Linked DNA regions of Homo sapiens: regions 2 and 3 are each linked to region 1. Evidence: promoter capture Hi-C in human tissues and cell types (Jung and others, 2019). All regions are on one chromosome and are shown on one strand. Each heading gives the region's core, a stretch centred on a gene start or on the middle of the fragment in contact. The rest is flanking DNA. Distances are from core to core; before and after follow the strand shown. Region 1 holds the start of RANBP3L (RAN binding protein 3 like). Region 2 has its middle 46 kb from the start of RANBP3L. Region 3 overlaps RANBP3L (RAN binding protein 3 like).

What was found. The method cuts DNA at HindIII sites, captures the fragments that hold promoters and counts their contacts. A contact is called where the count stands out against the background at its distance.
Region 2: a fragment that was not itself captured here is called in contact with the fragment with the promoter of RANBP3L in region 1 in 1 of the 25 tissues and cell types used here (hippocampus).
Region 3: a fragment that was not itself captured here is called in contact with the fragment with the promoter of RANBP3L in region 1 in 3 of the 25 tissues and cell types used here (dorsolateral prefrontal cortex, hippocampus and liver).

The regions. Positions count from the first base shown.
Region 1 is chr5:36,300,523-36,303,227 of GRCh38, forward strand. It overlaps RANBP3L (RAN binding protein 3 like), which reads right to left and starts at 1,380. Exons shown (of 14, transcript NM_145000.5): 1 at 804-1,380. The coding sequence starts at 894. All of the region lies in intron 1 of LOC124900962 (a long non-coding RNA gene), which reads left to right. The HindIII fragment of the contact is 10,640 bases long and covers 1-2,705 here.
Region 2 is chr5:36,346,259-36,348,963 of GRCh38, forward strand. It overlaps a transcript of LOC124900962 not described here. Among named protein-coding and RNA genes, the nearest start is that of RANBP3L, 46 kb to the left of the region's middle. The HindIII fragment of the contact is 4,153 bases long and covers 1-2,705 here.
Region 3 is chr5:36,262,010-36,264,714 of GRCh38, forward strand. It overlaps RANBP3L (RAN binding protein 3 like), which reads right to left. Exons shown (of 14, transcript NM_145000.5): 7 at 1-33. The region is part of intron 1 of LOC124900962 (a long non-coding RNA gene); the gene reads left to right. Among named protein-coding and RNA genes, the nearest start is that of NADK2, 21 kb to the left of the region's middle. The HindIII fragment of the contact is 4,445 bases long and covers 1-2,705 here.

The sequences.
Region 1 (2,705 bases), core at 130-2,629:
AGACCTACACATAAAAAGATCTATCCTAGGTTATTGAGGAGAAGTTAGAAGTGTCTGGTGAATCCTTAACCTCTGTGGAGTGATGATGTCATCCATGAGAGACCCAGCCTTTCCCACAAGTGTCATTTGCTGTCCCTGACAGGGTGGATTGGAGGGATCATCTTGTCTATTCATGTCAACCATCTGACACTAACTCAGCTGGCTGGAGAGTGGATTTGAAAATTTAAAAAGACTGATGGTGAAAATGGCTGGGAGGTAGATAGTTTAGTTTGAATGAGTGCCCAGCAAGTGAAATGTGACACTTTTCCCTGACTGTCTCCAGATGTCCCTGGACCATAAAAAGGAAAGAGTCAAGAATATATTTATTTTTCCCACAATGAATGAGCCAGAGATCCAGACAAACTTAGGCTTAAACAAAGTGAAAAAAGTGTCCCACCAGTGGTACTATGGTAGAGAAAGCTCCAGGCTAACTTAAAGCTACTCTCAGCTGAAATCCCCCTTGTAGCTGACTCAGCCTTGCTCAGATGGGTGTTTTGAATTAGACAAAATCTAGCATACTCTAAAAAACACAGTGGCTAGAAGTTTAAGCATGTAAGTTTCAGAATGACAGCTCCAAGGAATATGCATTCTTGACAGTCTTCCATAGTCCTCTAAAAATCAATAGTGAATCCAAGTTAACCCACCCTTATGCATCACTATTATGTCAGAGCTTCCCCGGGTCCTTCACCAGCCCACCATTCTTCCTGGAATGCAAATGCACAGAAGGTCACAGAATATGCAACTCATGAGCTGGACGGACTCACCTTGCTGTCGCCGGTCCTCCTGCAGCTTCAGTTTACAGGTGTGCAAACTGCCAGGCAGGTGGCTGCTGCCTTTTCTTGGTATGGTAGTCATGGTCCTAGCAGTATGGCTGTGACTCAAGGATCACTAGGGCACCTCCTTCTCTGGCCAGTCACCTAAAGTGGCCTTCACCAGACACCCAGAAATACATAGATTCATGCAGATCTTGTCTTTGCATGTACAACATATACTCCTCTACTAAACTTCCAAGCTTTTTCCAGTCATGATTCTTGAAATAAATAATCACCAATGTTACTTCTCCTAAATATAAAGATGCCAATTCATTTGGTTAAAAACACAACTTAATTCCTTCATTTCAAAACAAATTGAAACTAAACCTCCTTATAGAGTAAAATTCTACAAATTAACTATTTCTAACAGATTACACTTTTGTCATTTTTAAATTCCTTTTGGCGACATGAAATCCAATGCCTCCAGTATTTAGAGAAGGCTGCTAAAATAATACAGACACAAAGAAAAGAAAAAGTGCTGCTGAGTTAAGTCAAGTGATTTCTAAGCCTGATCTGAGTTACCCTCTGTGACAGCTGAAAGTGTACAGTTCTTAAGGGACTCTGGAAGGAGGAGGAGCAAAGTGGGCTAGGATGATTAGCATAAAGAGGCAGGCAAGACGGGCATTGGAGCTGCTTTGAATAATAGTGAACAAAGCACAGATTCTAAAGATGCCCTGCCCTTATGTTACAGTAACTGAGTACCTGATTTCTGCTACTTTGTTTGTAATTAAAATGCAAGCTGAAAGCAGGAGTTTATACTGCAAGGACATTCATTTGTGCATGTGAAATCTAAAAGGTATAAATGGAACTGGTAATGAGCTCATGGAAATGTACTGCTGGAACTTTCAATTTCTGTAAACACCTCCTAGTCTTCGGAAGGGAGCAGTTAGAGGGCAGCCTTCCTGCCAAGGCAACTATTTGGAGTTCTGGAAGAAAAATAAACACACAAAACATTATCTTTCCAGAGTCCTATTTCTGTTTCCCACTTAGAGTTCTTATTGCTACTTCTAGGTCATAGGAGAAAGTAATTTCCAGTTTTACTCGTTGGCTATTTCCTTACTGTTTGGAAACATAAACCCCAAACACCATTAATTTAACTTGAGAGCTTGCCATAACTGAAGTCATAATGAATGCTGGTAGGTCCTGCCCTTCAAGAGTCACAGCTCTTCGCAGATTCAGAAAGAAGGTAGTGGGCAGGACTAAGGAGAAAGGCAGAGCTGTTTAGCCTCGAAGTCTGGACTCTGCAGCTTCTTATGTGCATTTGGAAATTGGTGTTAAACTTGACACTGTAATGAATTTACCTCCTAACCAGATCTGGGTGGCTGCCCTCATTTTACTTTGAGGCAATTAACAATTCCCCAAGTATAGTCTGGTTTATGAAAATTTTTATGAAGTAGGTGATTGATCTTTTATAATTCTTGAATGCTTTAATTGTTTCAGTAGTCTATCTACTGCAGTTTTAGGCTAATCACAGTGTAACAGATGACAGAAGTGTTGTGCTACTTTGAAAGAGAGTCTTGTTATTGGAGAGTCATAGTTTCTACTTTAAATGTCTGCTATTCATCTCATCTTCCACAAAAGCCATGGTGGAGAGACAAGGTGATTTTTCCTGAATATGTAAAGTTATTGTTATTCTATCAAGTTATGTACCTCACTAATAAGCATATTATTATACAGGTAAGTTAAATAACCTACAAAACTGTAAGCCAGCCCTTTTGAGAAATACATTTAAAATGTTTTATGATGAAAAAATTTAAAAATACATGAATAGGAGAGAATAGCACAATAAGCCCTGCATACTCATCACTTGGCTTCAATATTATCAACTCATAGACAATCGTGTCTTAAAACTAT
Region 2 (2,705 bases), core at 65-2,564, 46 kb after region 1:
GCTGCTAAATTTTATTGACCAAATGGTTTTATTTAATGCTTTTGCATTACATCTTTAAGTACAGTTTCTCCAGGTATTTTCTTTTCCAGGAAAAATAGGTGGAAATTTTGCCTTTGTCTCATTTTAATAAGATTAGCTGCAAGCCTGTATAAAACGCCCATTTTGCTGTTGTTATCAGGAAAATGTAATGCCCTGGATTCTAAATATTAAACTAAGAAAGACTGTAAGGCAGAACATGCATTTTACACAGCTTCAATTACTGACTGCCTTCTGCTTGTGCTGGGGCAACACCTTTTGCCCCATCTTTCTCTGGCTGTTGACCAGAAGCAGGAAGTACAGAGATACATTTTAGTGATGAAGGAAAGGGGCTGCATCAAGGGTGTCTTCAGGCCTTAAAAATATTTTTGACCGCATAAATTCTCATTTCATCTAAACAGGTTTCTCACAGACCTCTCAAAGAAGTCTAAAAAGCCATTCTAGCAGAGGTAATGTCAACATATTCAATTGTAAATAAACTCTGAATGTGAAGTATATGAATGAATCATTGCTTTGTCATTTGTTTTGTGAAGTTCACTTTTCAGAAAATATTATTATATTGAGGTTTACCTTGTCCAAACTCAAAGACCTGAAGACATTCTAACAAAGCTATTGACTATTTCCCTTTGCCCTTAGCATATATTACAATGACTTTGGCTCTTTAGACTTGTACATGCCGGCATATAATTTATAAGTTGCTAGAATTCAGTTTTTCTTTACCAAATTAAGTATGTTTATACTAGAGATAAGAAAAATAAAGCTTACCAGAAAAGCATGGTCTTTTTCATATTTTTCCAGCTGTCTCTGTCAGAACTCACTGCCCGTTGCTTGAAACAACATCTTTCTTCCTGGCTGTGAGCTCCTGAGATGTTGGATTTGCTGTTTATATAATCTTTTATTCAAAACATCAAGAACTACATCTTTGGGCAATTTTTAAAAATTAAGGATACAGCAGTAAGCAGACAAAGTCCCTGCTCTTTGGAGCTTTCTTTAGATGATGAGTGTGAAGTAATGTAAATAATCAACCATACATTAGGAAGGGGTTCATATGTACTCAGTTCTGTCCTAGGGACTGTATTAGTCCATTTGAGCTGCTATAACACACACACCATAAACTGGGTGACTTAAACAACAAACACTTATTTATCACAGTTCTGCAGACTGGGAAATCCAAGATCAAGGTGCTGGCAGATTTAATGTCTGTCGAGGGCCTGCTTCCTGGCTTGCAGATGGCAGTCTTCTCACTGCCATGATGTAATTATTAGGTTGTTGCAAAAGTAATTTCGGTTTTAGCAATTTTTAAAAGTAATATCTCCCCAAAGCCCCACCTCCAAATGCCATCGCCCTGGGGATTAGGCCTCAACATATGAAGTTAGGGTGTGGGTGACACAGCATTCAGTCCGTAGTAGGGAGCCTTGTGGAGTGGAAGGATCCAGGTTCCTTAGGACTAGAGTGGCAGACAAGCTTTTGCTGGGACTTCAGCTGGTGTCTCACTTTTGTAACACTGTTTTCATCTCACAGGGTAGGGACCACAACAGAGACAAGCTGGGCTGCAGCGCTCATAAACTGATTCCAGGCAGATTCTCTTTAAGCGTGTTTTACCTTTCTTTCTTTAAACCAGCCCTTACCTGTTTACTGGAGAAAAACTTCTTTCCTTTCTCTTTTATTCTTCACTTCCCTCTTGATTTCATTTCATTTCACCTACTGATGGCTTTTAAACATTAGAGTAGTATGAATAAAACATTTTAAAGCCCAAATAAAATCTGTGTTTTGAAATAAAATTAGCTAAAATTAATAAACAGTGACAGCAACCTCACCAAAAAGCCCTGACAGGCATGTAGAATTCTCCTTAAGGAAGTCTCCATCTGACTCCTTATCATACTTTCATTGGCTCCCCTCTTCCCCAAGTTGACCACTTAAATCAACCTGCAGACTTACCCAGTTTTCATTCCAGAACATGACCAATTCAGACAGTATTTAAGGATTTAAGAAATTCTAGCCACCTCTCTCCACCCAGGACTCAGCCTGAAGTCATATTTTACTGATGAATGAAAATAAATATCATTAGGCTAAGGTCTGGGGTGTATATTATTATTATTGTTGTTATTTTTAGAAGTATGCTATAATAAAGAATGTTTCTTTTTTTTTTTTTTTTTTTTTTTTTTTGAGACGGAGTCTCGCTGTCGCCCAGGTTGGAGTGCAGTGGCGCGATCTCGGCTCACTGCAGGCTCCGCCTCCCGGGTTCACGCCATTCTCCTGCCTCAGCCTCCCGAGTAGCTGGGACTACAGGTGCCCGCCACCTCGCCCGGCTAATTTTTTGTATTTTTAGTAGAGATGGGGTTTCACCGTGTTAGCCAGTATGGTCTCGATCTCCTGACCTCGTGATCCGCCCACCTCGGCCTCCCAAAGTGCTGGGATTACAGGCGTGAGCCACCGCGCCCAGCCAAGAATGTTTCTTAAAATAAGACTCTAACCAAACTTAGGATCATTTGCTGAGTTTCTTTAAAATGCCTATGTCTGGGCCTCACATCATATGGTTCAAAATTGCTGGGGTTGAGACCTGGAAATCTGTATTTTAATAGCATCCTATGCATTTCTGATACACACTCAAGTTTTGAGATCCTTAAGGGTCCCAAACACAGTCCCAAACACAGGGAAAATATATTTGT
Region 3 (2,705 bases), core at 79-2,578, 39 kb before region 1:
TTCACTTAACAAATAGGAATTTCCCTCAGAAATCTGAAAGTAAAGAAATCCATCAAAAAGTTTATAAAGACTACCTTACTATAGGACCATCAGACAAGGAAACAATAGTTATAGTTAAATATATTGAAAGCTTACTATGTTTAAGTACTGCCTTAAGCATTTTATGTACGATCTCATTTACTCCTTACAACTCTAACACTTTGTAATTCTATTGTCCACATTTTACAGGTGAGTAAACTGACACAAAAAACTTAAATAATTTGCCCAGGTCACATACAGTGGCGATCTGTCTAATACCGGAATATCATAATATTCAGAAATCCCACCATGTTTTGTTTATTTTTGCCATTTTAGTCAAATTGGGTTAATTCTCATTTCTGGATTAGTAAAGCTCTTTTCAGGACTATTTAATCCTGGGAAACACCCTAAGAATGTCACCATCCTAGTCACCCAATGTGAGAGAAAACCCCACTCATCTATTTATCTTGAAATTTTCAACTAGTAACTTATCCAGTTACTTTGCCTTATGTACATATGTGTATGCACAATACCTGAATTAATATATAAATGTAAGAGTGAGGAAATTTAGAATTGGAAGGAACCCTATACATTATCTGATCTAGTATTTACAATTCCTTCCTCGACCAGGAATTTGCAAAGATGTTTCAGGGCGTTTGTGTCTTTTAAAGCCAGATGGGTTATGTTTCCACTTAAATTTTTATTTCAATCAATAAAAATAATTTTGAGTACTTTTTCTTTTTTAACAAGAGTTTGACAACTGACAAATATGTATCAAGAGAGCATGTGCCATGGTTGGCAAAGATCGAAGTACATGCTCATTACCTAGTCATTCAGATAATGTATCTCTCAGCCAAAATGGTAGTTTTCACTCCTATGTTGGTTAAAATAGTTATTTAGGCATATATTGTTTAATCTATACATAGTAAGTAACCATTGATTAATGATAGGATGAAAATAATTTATCTGATTTTGATATACAAGATAATAAGAAATATAAAGATAATGGTTCTACAAAATCCACCTAGAGATAGTTTTCACAAAATCTTTAAATTACATTCATTTGGTCAAAATTCTTACATAGGATCTTATATACAGTGTGTCTCTGGATCTTCAAAGATCAATAAATGGAAAATTTAATGATGGGCATTAAATTTTCTTTTTAATGATGGGCATATACAGTAGGGCTTTTCAATAACTGGAAATAAGGTTTATTCCCTAGACCTTATAATTTATTCAAAAATAAATATAAACAATAGCTTGAAATTTTCTCTTAAGCTTGGATCATTTAAGAAGAAAATGGAAGAAATATATTAATAAATTTTATTTTAAAATATGCAATGCAATATTTACAAAAATTCTGCCAAGAAAGAAATATTGATGTATTTTTGATGTCATAACATGTAATTAAAATCTTGCTCTATATTTATAGTGCATGCCATTTTAAAATCAAATGCAATATAACTTTTTAGAAATTAGTCAACATATTATACTTTCTATTACATAATTTAAAACAAGTTAAACACCATGCATCACTTCTTTTTTCTCTTTTCTTTTTTGAGACAGTCTGGCTCTGTCACCAGGCTGGTACCATCTCGGTTCACTGCAACCTCCACTTCCCGGGTTCAAGCTAGGACTACAGGCACATGCCACCATGCCCAGCTAATTTTTGTATTTTTTGTAAAGACAGTGTTTTACTATATTGCCTAGGCTTGTCTGGAACGTTTTAGCTCAAGAGATCCACTCATCTCGGCCTCCCGAAGTGCTAGGATTAAAAGAGTGAGCCACCACGCCTGGCCACTTCACTTCTTAAATAAAAGTAAGGAATTATGTAACATGGTGATAATTATTACATTATATTTAAGTGAAAACAATAATATACTTATCTAAAATTGAAGACATGTTTTACTTAAAAATTACTTATATAGCATGCATAAATGATGAAATGATTTTTTAAATTCATAATGGATCTCTCCAAATAATATCTTACAAAGTAAAGAGTTTAGGAATATAAAAATATTGGAAAGTGCTGATCAAGTTCAAGTCCCTTACTTTGCTGATATAAAAAGATGTTGAATGGGTGCTTTGTTTAGATAAACAAAGATAGCAGCAGAGGCAAGATTAGTACCAATCTGGTATTTTTTTACACTTCCGTGTTTCTGTCCTTATGTTCACTAAGGGAAAACAAAGCGAAACTATGTGACCAATCCTCAGTAGTTCAGCTGGAAACAAATGGCTAAGATGGAATAACTCTCAAATTCCAACCTACCTATCTTGAGTCCTATTCCTCCTGTGTCTGCTTCTGCTGGAAGACAGGTAGCACTACAGCAATTGAATATATCCCCAAACCCATATCTGCACGGCTTGTGTAAGTTACTGTCTGTTTAGAAAGGCCTACAAAGAGTGATTCAGACACTACATAGTTGGAAGTTAGAATTCTTATCTGTCTCTAGAGGCTTCCCAAACCCTCCCAACTACACTGTATAGGGAGTTCTCTGCTCCTGTTATACTGGAATTTGGCTCTGAAATGAACCTCTGGTATGACCTAAACTGGCAACGATACACTGTGATGTTGACCAGTTGGCGATGTAGAGAAAATCCCTGCCTCTTTTTTGACTACTGACTCTGGCCCCTGGCTCCCTCATTGCTGTCCCCATTCTCACACAGGGTCATTGCTCTGGCACAAG